2 separate regions of the Homo sapiens genome follow, and region 2 is linked to region 1. Evidence: promoter capture Hi-C in 16 types of primary human blood cells and fetal thymus (Javierre and others, 2016). All regions are on one chromosome and are shown on one strand. Each heading gives the region's core, a stretch centred on a gene start or on the middle of the fragment in contact. The rest is flanking DNA. Distances are from core to core; before and after follow the strand shown. Region 1 holds the start of CALCOCO1 (calcium binding and coiled-coil domain 1). Region 2 overlaps LOC105369777 (a long non-coding RNA gene).

Region 1 (6,263 bases), core at 1,740-4,239:
TCTGCGATAATCCCGTGATTCTCTATCCGCTGAGCGCTGTTGGATATATTCTCATTATATTTATTTTCGTTTATTTTTCCTTGTCCTTTGTGCCTAACTTTTAATGTTTCTGAGCCCACTACCTTCTTTCAAACCTCCACTCCCTTGGCTCCTCTCTCCCAATTTTCCATCTTCCCTTGTACCTTGGAACTGGACACTGGTGTGAATGGGGGAACCATCAGTTGTACTTTCAGGCACGGAAGACCACACAAATGTGTGGTAATCCCGAACACAGGCAGCCTCCACCTGTGAAAGCCCAAGGTTGGAGAAAGGTATGGTCATGGAACTACCTTCTATGGATGGAAGAAAGGGCTGAGGGGTTGAATAAGGGGGGCAGGATGGAGCTACAGTGGCAACAATGACAAGAGAAAGGGAAAGTGGAGGGACACTAATGTGTCAGTAAAGAACAAGGCTAAGATGGAGAAAATATGTGCTTTGGTTATACAGGCGGCCTCTGTCATCTGTGACATCTTTCTCTCTTCTTCTCTATCAACCTGAGGTTGAGAATCCAAGAGCCCAATCATTCCCCTTATTCCAACCAACTCACAGCCCATAAACCTAAGCCAAAAGGGGTTCCAGAGATACCTTGAAGATGCCAATCCAGTCACTGGCACTGGGCATGGTGCCTGGGGGAAGGGTGTAGTGACATTCCACCTTGGTGTTGGGGATGTAGGTCCGGGCTACATTGAGAAAGTTGACTCCACCACGGGATGGTGCCCGGCTTAGTGGTGATTCTTCCATCCTGGCCTTGAGATATCTGTCCTCCTATGAAAGAAAGGGTTGATAGCCTAAAGTCTTTCCAGTCCACCTCCTTCCCCCCACAGCTCCAGCACCACACACTCACAGCCCCTGCCACTACACCTGGAGATAAGGCATACCTGGTTTCTAGTCCCTGAGGGTTACGGGACATTTTTGAGGTATCACTCTTAGTCTCTAGGACGTAGGTCTGGCCTTCCAAGTCCGTCCCCATCCTGTCTCACACTGTACCCGCTCTGGCTCATAGACCCTTCTGAGGGTTCAGACTTCTCTAATTTTGCTCCCAAAAGGACACTGACGGGGACAGAGCCTGGGATACTGCGACTTGGTCGACAGCCTCCATTTCTCCATCCCATCTCCCACACATCCTGGCTCTTGAATACAAAATCCAACTGAGGTGTGGGGCCCTCTCATTGAGAGAGGTGTCCTTACCTACTCCTAAGCTTGTTGACCCAGCTGTATCCAGGAATGAGTTATGACATCAGAAAGCAGCAACTAATCTCTGAAAGGAATGGTTGAGTTTTCAGAGCTAGAATATGGCTGGGGGTCGAGGGGAACTGAGCCCAAATCCTTAGGCTCCTGAGCTCTCAGCTCTTTTCATCTCTCTGAGCTGCCTACCCCCATGAATTCTAGGGAAGCAGAAAGCTTCTGCTGGCATCCAAGAGACAAAGGGAAGGGGAGGATATAAGGAAAGACAGGTTCTGTCCCTTGACTTATTATTCCAGGAAGTCAAGAATTCTGGAGGCGGCAACTTCAAGGGTGGAGTGAGGCGCTTAGCAGGAACGTGGTGGGGGTGGGGAGATGGAATGTGGGGGCCTGGAGCCAGGAAAGCCCCACCCCAGGGCAGGGAACAGACTAGAAAGTGGGAAGTAAGGGGCCCCAAGAAGTGGAAATGTATATTTAACGTTGAGGAAAGGGGAGATAGTTCAAAAAGAACCTAACATTCTTCTCTCCAGACTGTGCCTGCAGCAGGACTAGAAACCTACTGGTTTCACTTTAGTATTTCTCTCCTCATTTTCTCTCTGCTCCCCTCAGCCTCCATCCTTCCATCTGTTTGTATTGGTAGCTGGAGACACACTACAGGATGGGGTTGAGAGGAAGGGGTGTTCCAAGTTAGCTGGGGAGAGTTAATTGGAAAATATGAGGGTGGGGTGAGGACAGATAACAATAATAACGATCAAAAGAACTCCTCAGTCCAGGGCTGTGAGATGGCCCTCTTATTCATCACTCCTTTCCAGCCCACTAATCTATTTCCTGTGTCACTCACAGCTGACATGTCCAACCAGCCATTGTCACTAGTCATATGCACGCCCCCAAACATCACAAACCCACACCAGGCTGAAGTCCAGGGGACAGGAACTTTAAAAGAAAACAGAAACTCAGTGGATAAAGGTGAGCCAGCAACACAAAAAGGAGCAACTTCTGTCCCCCAAATAGGTAGAACAAAAAGTTTTTTTTAATGTTCATCTCCCTGAAAAATTCCTGGTTGAAACTAATCCATGTTTTCTCCAAATGCAATTCTTCCAGCTTTCTAAGGGTGGGGGTAAATTGTCCCCAAAGATATACCTGGAGAACCCTAAAATACACCCCACAAAGAAAATCCGTAACAGCTGTAAACGTTCTTCATGTCCGAAAGAAAGTTTTGGGCACCTAAGATGTAGGTGTGTAGCCTGATTCAGATGTTCACATGATGGGGCGGAGAGCGGGTGTCCCATCCCCTACTCTGTAGGGCTCTAGAGTTCCTTGACATTCTACACCTTGGAAGGTCCCCCTTCCTCCCCAGGGATTCAGCGTCGTAAAGGCCTTTGGATTTGCGTAGGGGAGAGAGGGAAGACGTGTAGGGGACACGTCTTGCCTGGGAGCGAATAAGCAGATTTCAGCTCCCTTGAAGGGATCAGCTTTATAGAGACGCATTGAGAAGAAGGAGAGGACGACGAGGGGGCGCCCCCCACCCCCAATCAGAGTCCCCTTGAAACCAAGAACTCCCCAAACAGCGGGGGTGGCTTCTCCAGTACGGAAAGGGTTACAACCCAAACGCTCCTGTATTCCCCTTCGACAGTTCCCTTACGTTATCCTTCCCCAAACTGGAAAGTGGGGTGACCCTCCCCTCCCATAAGATCGCCCCCAATTAGGCCAAGTTTCTTACCCAACAGACGGATCAGCTGTTCCCCTCACCTTTCACCAACAACAAAAACAGCACTCCGACTTCTGGAGGGGAGGGAGAAGAGTGGGCGCGAGGGCTTCTGGGGTTTGTGGTTCTTCTGCGCCCTTTTGCCGCTGCGTGCTCGGATCTAGGACTATACATCCCAGAAGGCTGCGCGCAAGGAGGGCGGGGAAGAGGGCGTCCGTGACGGCGGCCTCACCGCGGCATCCTGGGAGGCGTAGTTCTCACTCCTATGACAGAAAACGAGGGTGTGGCCAGCAAAGGACTTCAAGGCCCATGATCCCTTAGGAGGGGGCCGGCTGCATTAGGGGTGGCTGCTGGTTTGTAACGTGCGTTGTTGGGGGCTGGGGAGGATTTACGGCTCTAAAGCCTTCCATATAACGCTTTAACGGTGGGCAGAGCGGTTTCTGTTGCGTCCCGTCCTGTACTTTTCGCACCCACCTGTGAGATAGGCGTTAAGCGTTATGCACGCTTTATAGATGTAGAAAGTGAAGTACGGTTAAGGAGGCGGTGTGAAGTGTCAAAGCTATGAAATGTAGAACTGCATTAGCCTTGGCTAATTCCACGTCATATATTCTTGCCACTACACCACAGCTACCCACCATTTTGGGGATGGGAAACTGATAGCTGGGGTATAGCAGTTTCTTCTTTACTTCAATCTCAGGGACAGACCTTGTAAGAATGATGTCTTCTGCACAGCTGACCATTTTTTTCCAACTTGAGGATTTCAGTGCTAAGGGGCCTGACCATATCCACATCTGGACTGGGCTCCCCCAGAGTGGCTTCTGGGTCTAGGAAGAGGATACAATTGACTGAGGTGGTGGTAGGAGCGGTGGAATGAGAAGAATGAAATTGAAAAGGGAGCTTGGCATAATTCAGGACCTGTCACAATTCACAAACAAGCCACTTATGGGGCCTGTTTGCCCAAGCCTTTTAAGTGGCTTAAATTAATTAGGATAACAATACATGTTGACGTTCCGGTTTTTATTTAGGAGAGGTGAAAGATTGACACGTCTCCCACACCCCAAGTCACGTTATAGACTTGGGCATCCTGTCCCCCCTCTCGCTATTCTCCATCCCTGTAGTCGGAGGCATTCAGAATTACCTCTTTCTCTGGCTCTGCATTAAAGGATTACAGTCTTAAGGATTGATTTCCTCTTCCTAGGTGCCTGCTTTAATTCTCTACTGCACTAAGTTATGGAGCTTCTGCCTTTTCCAAGTTTTTTGGTAGTGTTTTGCTTTTATGACTGAATGCGGTGTCTGCCCTCAGTGTCTTTCATCTGAAGATCTCCAGGCACTTAAAAATTAGTTACTGGGCTGCACAAACATTAAGGTGATGTGTCTGTGTCATTAGTCAGGATTTATGAGTTAGGGAACCAGTTTCTGGATGAGGAGGTAGCTCAAGGTCTGGAGTGGGTTAAGAGTGAGGTCTGTTCAAGGACCCAAGTCTCAAGAGTTCTTGGCTCTTGTCTTCCGCCCAAAATAAAGGTCTACGAGAAAACAGTCTCGGAGCTAAAAATGGTAACAACTTCCATTTCTTGGGTGCTTATGATCTGTTCAAACTATGCTAAGAATTTTCCCATTTAATACAACAGGCTTATGTAATACGCCTTGTTATTATCCCCATTTTACACATGATGAGATTGAGGCACAATTAATGACTTGCCTGGAGTCATCCAGCTAGTGAGTGGCAGAATCAAGATTTAAGCACAAGCAGTCACCATACTCCCAGTCCAGAAACTCTGGCATGTGATACTAACTCCCATTGTTCTAAGGAACAGTGCTGGTTCATTAACAGGAGACAAATGTTCACTGAGCATTTATGTGCTCAGTGCAAGGCACAAAGTAATGTGAAACAGATTCATTCAACAAATATGTGGCAGGTACTATGCTAGGTATTCAGTTACTTTTATTGAAAGAATGAATAGTAAATATTCATTATTTTAAAATAATATATGTAATTCATTATTTTAAAATAATAAATGTAATTCATTATTTTAATTATAGTCATTACTTTCAAATATTCAAGTATTTGAAGGATAGATTAAATTTGGATAGTTTGGCAAGATGGGGACTGGGGAGGGTAAGCTTCTTCTAGGCCAAAGCAAAGATTTGGAGGTGGGAATGGATAATGAGCCTAGAGTCACATAATAGCACATCAATTTCAACCTTTATTTATGTATTTAGGCAAACTCAGATTATTGGTAATGTCTGCCTGAAATGTTGTGTTGAGGATTCTGAGGAAAGAGTGCTGGGTAGTAATGTCTGCCATGTACTCCAGATGGAAAATGGCAGTTGTAGTGGATGGACTAATTGTTTGAAATTATTTCCTCTCTCATTCCTGCCCACTGCCATGTGACTTGCAGTATCTCCTGTAGAAGGAATAGATGTCTCATGTCATTGACTTTGGGCTTTGTCATGTTTCATAATTTGGCTGATGGGATGTGAACAGATGTGACTCATGCCATGTTTGAACACATGAGTTTCCACTTTCTTGTTCTTCTCTGCCACTAGAATGGGAATAATCCACATGAGAGTTGCTCCTTCTGCCTGGGCCTGGGAATGAGAAGACCTGTGGAGCTGAGCTACTGCTTACCCACAACCTGCATATACATAAATCAGAAGCCAGCACTGGTTGTTGTGAGTCGCTTAGATTTTGGGGTAGGTTGTGATTGCAGCAAAGCTGAATAAAAGCTACAGTTGGAGGCCAGGCGTGGTAGCTTGCTCCTGTAATCCCAGCACTTTGGGAGGCCAAGGTGGGCGGATCACTTGAGGTCAGGAGTTCAAGACCAGCCTGGCCAACTGGTGAAACCCCATCTCTACCAAAAATACAAAAATTAGCCAGGTATGGTGGCGCGTGCCTGTAATCCCGGCTACTTGGGAGGCTGAGGCAGGAGAATCGCTTGAACCCAGGAGGCAGAGGTTGCAGTGAGCCAGAATGGTACCACTGTTCTCCAGCCTGGGCAACAGAGTGACACTCTGTCTCAAAAAACAAAACAAACAACAACAACAACAACAACAACAACAAAAAGAAGCTACAGTTGGATAATTGGATAATGGAAGATAAAATTGGAAAGACAGACTTAAGCCAGAGTATAGAGAGTTTTGAATGTCAAGTGAGCCAGAGCCTATGTGTTTATCAGAACCTGTTTCTTTCTTTTTCTTGGACACACAGCTGTACCACATTTTTTTATTTTTTTATTTTTATTTTTTATTTTTTTATTTTTTTGAGACGGAGTCTTGCTCTGTCGCCCAGGCTGGAGTGCAGTGGCGCCATCTCAGCTCACTGCAAGCTCCGCCTCCC
Region 2 (5,683 bases), core at 2,700-5,199, 470 kb after region 1:
TCTGGTAGCTCCTAACAACTTTTTAGCAAGGGGCATCCCCCATTACTGTCCAAGCCCATCTCCAGAGTGTCACCATTTTGACTTCTTTCTCTGCCTTGCTATCTGCCCAACCCTATAACCTCAGTATTAGTCAAGAGTTTTCCAGAGAACAGAACTAACAGGATATCTATCTATATGACGAGATTTATTCCAAGAATTGGCTCACAGGATTGTGGAGGCCAAGAAGTCCCACAGTCTCCCGCTCTGCTGTCTATACACTGGAGAACCAGGAAAACAGGTGGTATAATTCAGGAAAGTCCAAAGCAGGGGAGGAGGCTCACTGCTAAGTCCCAGAGCCTGAAGGACGAAGAACCAGGAACTCCAATGATGTCCAAAGGCAGGTAAAATAGATGTCCCAGCTCATGAAGAAAGAGAATTTGCCTTCCTCCACTCTTTTGTTCTACTGGCCCCCAAGGGATTGGATGGTTCCCACCCATATTAATGAGGGTGATCTTCTTAGTCTACCAATTCAAATGCAAATCTCTTCCAGAAACACTCCACAGACATATCCAGAAATAATGTTTTACCAGCTATCTGGGTGTCCCTTAGACCACTCAAGTAGACACATAAAGTTAGCTATCACTCTTCCATCCAAATCTTCTCCCTCAAATACTTTGTCCAGGAAGGCTTCCCTGATCAATCCTCATCCCATGGCTGCACCTAACAGTCCATTCCCCCACCATTCCCCCATCCCAATATCTATGTCCAAATCTGTCCTATTCCTAGTTTTGTTCTTGTGCTCTATCTGGGTCTGGTTCTGTGTCGTGACTCTAAAACTTTCATTAGACTGGGAACCCCCTAAGGTTAGTTATCTTCTATATTCCTCCCACCCCACAATCTCCACACACCTTAGCACAGCCAAGGCTCTAATCACAGAAGCAAGGTCTCCCTGTGAGTGGTAGAAAAGGAGACCTATAAACCCCAGAACAGGAAGAAGTGAGAGAAAAAGGATGCTATTCCCTTCCCAGGACTTGTCTGATCTCCTATCAACAAAAACTTAATGGGTGCAGTAGGAGCTTCAGGGAGCTGTGAGCAGTGACCTGCTGACATCAAGGGTGAGAAACTACCCTGACCCTTGCAAGACTTTGGAAATGGAATTAATCATCCACCTCATGAAGCCCATAATTTCCTGAGCTTTAATTTTTACCAGATCCTCTCCCTCTCTGTGTCTCTCTCTGCCTATGTTATTTGCCCCTCTCTACTTATGTAAATTTATCTCTATTTCTAGTCTCTTGTGTAGCTTTCTCTCTGTATCTGCAGGTCTCTGTCTCCCTCTGTGAACATCTCCCTGTTTCTGCTTCTTACCCTAGAATGACTGGAATAAGAGAATCTGAGCTTCTAGAACAAGTTCCCCCATCTCTGTGTGTCTATGTATTTCTGTGTTTCTGACCAAAAATAAGGTGAAGGGACCTCATTGTGGTGTCATCTCATTGCTTAAAAATTCCAGGATTTCCACCATCCCTTGGACAACCCTCCTGTCCACCCCGACCCCTCTGTCACTTGCTTGCCCAGCACTTCTGTTCTAGTTTGTCATCTTGGCAGCCCCTCCACATTCAAAGTCTGCTTCTGGCAGAACAATAATGAGTGAAATGAGTAACAGGCAAGCAGAGATCCCCCAGGACCTCCACCTCCCCACCCCTGATTTCAATTTCCTAGAAGACTTGAATAACTGTTTCTGTCCCTATAAGCCCATCCACCCCAGGGAACCCAGAGATAGGAAGTCCAGATATAAGGAGAAACTGAGGCTTAGGCAGCCCACAGTGAGTCCCTACAGCCAATGTCAGAGGGGCCTGGGGCCTTCTCTCTCTCTAGTCCATGCTATTCCTCCCCGCCCAGTGAGTCACTCCCAGGAAAGATGGAGGTGAGGCGCTCTCCTGAAGTAGGCGTGCTTAGAAACAGGGACCCTGAGGCTTTCAAGAGATAGAGCCCAAGAGATGAAACATGGGCTTGGGTGCAGCCCTTCCAACCAGTCTCTTCCATTTATTAGTCTTCATGTCTTCTGGGAAGTCTTCAGGAGGCTGCTGACTGTGATTTACGGGTAGAGCCTTGTGGGGCAGGAACAGAAGATGACCCAGGTTATCGCCTGGGTAAGAGCCTAGAGAGTTGAGTCACCGGTCCTGGGGCAGGGCTCCAGGCATACCCACCAGCCAGCCCCTCTGTCCTGAGCCCGGGAGGGAAGGGGTTAACCGGCTCACTTGTTTTTTTTTTTTTTTTTTTGTTTCCTCGGGCTGCTGGAGCTGTGTTGGGCCATGAGCGCCATCTATCGGCCTCTTTGGGTCCTAGCTCCGACTCTGCTCACTTGGGCTGCTAGGCGGATCTTTCAGCCTTTCCCTTGCCTCGCCGCTTCTCACGGGGAAGGGCTGTCTAGCTGCGGGGCCTCCCACTGCACAAAACAAAGGTCGGGAATTGGAGAAGGTGAAGGCCATGTTTCCCCCTTCATAGATACTAAGTTTCACCCTGTTCAGCTCCCACTCACTGTTTCTGACATGGGGAGCCCCAAAGGGGGTTCTGGTGTTTAACTTTCAGTGTAGCCACCTTCCCCACTTCCACTACACTGGGTCCTGTCCCGATTAGCCCAACAAACATCAAAAGAGCATAGGACAGTGAAGACAGCATAGCAGAGGCCTCAGGACTTTGGGCTCTGGAATCAGACTGCTGCGTTTGAATCCAAGCTCTGCCACTTACTCATGGTGACCTTGGGCATGCTACTTAATTTCTCTGTGCCTCAGTTATCTCAGTTGTAAAATGGGATAATCATTGTAATCTCTATCTTCTTTTGTGATGTTTAAATGACTTAATTACATTAAGTGCTTATTACAGAATTTGGGCTCCACAAAGGGTAGTTATTGCTGTTGCTCTGCCAGGGTCTCAGGCAGATGATAGTCTGAGTACCCAAGACCCAGTCCATGAAGCCCTATCAGACACACAAGCACGGAGGACAAGACTGGGGAGCTCATCCTGTAGATTTCCCAAAGACAGTGACCTGCATGCAGGGTTAGGTTTGGAGTTGGAAGTTCAGGATTGCAAGGAAAGTAACTCTTCAGGTCTCCAAGGTCAGCAGAAGTTGGGATAAGGAGGTCACAGCAAGAAAGAACCTGAAGTAAAGATGTAGGAAGGAAATGCATTAAGGAAGAAGCATTAACAGGCCCTTTAAAGGGCCCTGATTTGGGGAAGGGAAAAGGGCTCCTTGATGTGTGAGTTAAGCAAGGGCCACTGCATCCCAAGGACATGTCCTTGGCACAGATGCAAAAGTCTCCAGACTTGATCAGATTCCCCATGCCTCCCCATTCCATCTGTGGGGACTTAACACTCCATGTCTTTTCCTCAGCCTAGTGAGGAGGGGCACTTACAAAGAGAGAAAGCTATCTGCAGGGCCCACAACCAGAGGAGCTAGGCTGTGAGTTCATCCATTTGTGTCCTTTTTTTTTTTTTTTTTTTTTTTTTGAGACAGGGTCTCACTCTGGAATGCAGTGGCATGATCATGACTCACTGCACTCTCGACCTCCTAGGCTCAAGCAGTCCTCCCGCCTCAGCCTCTCCAGTAGCTGGGACTACAGGTGCGCACCACCACACCCAGCTAATTTAAAAATTTTTTTTGTAGAGACAGGGTCTTGCTATGTTGCTCAAGCTGGTCTTGAACTGCTGGGCTCAAGTGATCTTCCCACCTCGGCCTCCCAAAATGTTGGGATTATGGGTGTAAGCCACCGCACCTGCCTGATTTGTTTCTCAACAGGTTCAGCCATCTCGCTGTCTCTGTATCTTCTATATCTCTGCCTTCATCTACCTTACAAGAAATGGGATTATTCTCCAAGGGGTGAGAATAAGGTGACAAAGTGACACCCTCTCAGTTAAGACAGAAATGCAGAGCCAGTGGGGTCCCTGGCTCAGCCTCGCTACCCTGCTACGCACACCTCAGCCCCAAGGCAGCACAACCTAGCTTTATGGATTATGCCTACTTAACTGGAGGAAGATGACAGCGTCTAGGTCTCCTCAACTCTGGTGTCCTCCATCTCCTGGGGCCTGGACGCCTGGGTCCCCAAGAGAGGAGCAGGAATAGGCTGGATGGGCTGATTTGCATCACTTACTTGGGAAGCAATTATCGGAGGAGCTGTCAGCTCAGTGCAGCTCTCTCCTCACTAATCGGATTTCACCAGAGCCCGGGGCTTGGGGGGGCCGAGTAATTTGGCTTGATGCAGTGGTGGGAGATGTCAGGGCCAGGAGGCCGGACAATCTGTCTGAGTGGTGTTAGAGTTGTCCAGAGCAATTATCCTGAGGGACCACACAGACATCAGATAGACAGACAGACAAGGGAATGGGACTGATCCCCAAGTCCTTTAGCAGGAAGGATGGAAGTGAGACTTGGAGAATGGGAGGAGCATCTCCCACAGGTTGAACCAAATTGAGCAACTAGAAGAGGATCAAGATGAGTCTGAGAGAGTGGCCATGGGACCAAGTGGGAGGACGACCCAAGAATCCTAGCTTCCAGCCTACTCAACACCGAGGCCCAGCCCTGCCTTGCCCTGCACTCCCAGGGAACCAGTCACAGAGCAGGAACTTGAACCTAGGGTGATTCTTCTGAGCTCTGCTCCTTCCCCTGCAATGTTCCCAAAAGACAATTTCCTTGCCTCTGGCCCTGGCTCTGTCATTTGCCTTCTCTTGCTCCTGCAGCCCTCTTGAACCTGTCCTTTCCTTCCCACCCATACTGCCCCTCTCATCTCTCTGGTGATCCCTCTCTCTGTCTCTGTCCTCCATTCCACATCTTTCAGAATAGTGGTAAGGGTGATAGTGACAATAACTAACCGTTAGTGAGTGCTTTGTCCACACCAGACACCACCCTGAGTGCTTTATGTGGATTGTTTCCTTTACTCCTCTCAGCAACACTTTGAGGGACATACTTTTTTTTTTCTTTTTTGAGACAGAGTTTTGCTCTGTCACCCAGGCTGGAGTGCAGTGGCACAATGTCGGCTCACTGCAACCTCCGCCTCCCAGGTTCAAGGGATTCTCCTGCCTCAGCCTCCTGAGTAGCTGGGATTACAGGCACCTGCCACCACGCCCGGCTAATTTTTATATTTTTAGAAGAGACAGGGTTTCACTATGTTGGCCAGGCTGGTCTTGAACTCCTGACCTCAGGTGATCTGCCTGCCTCAGCCTCCCAAAGTGCTGGGATTACAGGCGCAAGTAAGCCACCATGCCCAGCCTTTTTTTTTTGAGACAAAGTCTCACTGTGTTGCCCAGGCTGGAGGGAAGTGGCACAATCTTAGCTCACTGCAACCTTCACCTCCCAGACTCAAGCAATCCTCCCACCTCAGCCTCCCAAGTAGCTGGGACTACAGATGTGCACCACCACACCCTGCTAATTTTTAAATTTTTCTGTGGAGATGGGGGTCTCACTATATTGCCCAGGCTGGTCTCAAACTCCGGAGCTCAAGTGATCCTTCCACCTCAGCTTCCCAAAGTGCTGAAATTACAGGCATGAGCCACCATGTCCAGCTCAAGGATGTTCTGATAGCAGGTTGAAAAGAGCACTGAACTTTCAAGGACATTTGGAGCTGGGAGTCTGCCACTTGCCAGCAGTGTGACCTTAGGAAGCTCATGACCTCTGTGAACCTTGGGCTAATCATTTCGTTCTTCACCTGGAAGAGAG

What was found. Contacts are between HindIII fragments. The CHiCAGO score rates a contact against its expected background, and 5 or more counts as called.
Region 2: a contact is called between a fragment that was not itself captured here and the fragment with the promoter of CALCOCO1 in region 1, in 11 of 17 cell types (naive CD8 T cells, total B cells, naive B cells and 8 more). The highest score is 7.2, in naive CD8 T cells.

What each region holds. Positions count from the first base shown.
Region 1 is chr12:53,724,463-53,730,725 of GRCh38, forward strand. It overlaps CALCOCO1 (calcium binding and coiled-coil domain 1), which reads right to left and starts at 2,990. Exons shown (of 15, transcript NM_020898.3): 1 at 2,942-2,990; 2 at 625-804; 3 at 183-285. The coding sequence starts at 780. It overlaps LOC105369774 (a long non-coding RNA gene), which reads left to right and starts at 2,117. Exons shown (of 3, transcript XR_944973.3): 1 at 2,117-2,187; 2 at 5,474-5,620. RefSeq lists enhancers at 566-1,765, 3,083-3,142. The HindIII fragment of the contact is 3,607 bases long and covers 1,439-5,045 here.
Region 2 is chr12:54,189,441-54,195,123 of GRCh38, forward strand. It overlaps LOC105369777 (a long non-coding RNA gene), which reads left to right. Exons shown (of 3, transcript XR_944984.2): 2 at 1,008-1,094. Among named protein-coding and RNA genes, the nearest start is that of SMUG1, 3.3 kb to the left of the region's middle. The HindIII fragment of the contact is 8,187 bases long and covers 1-5,683 here.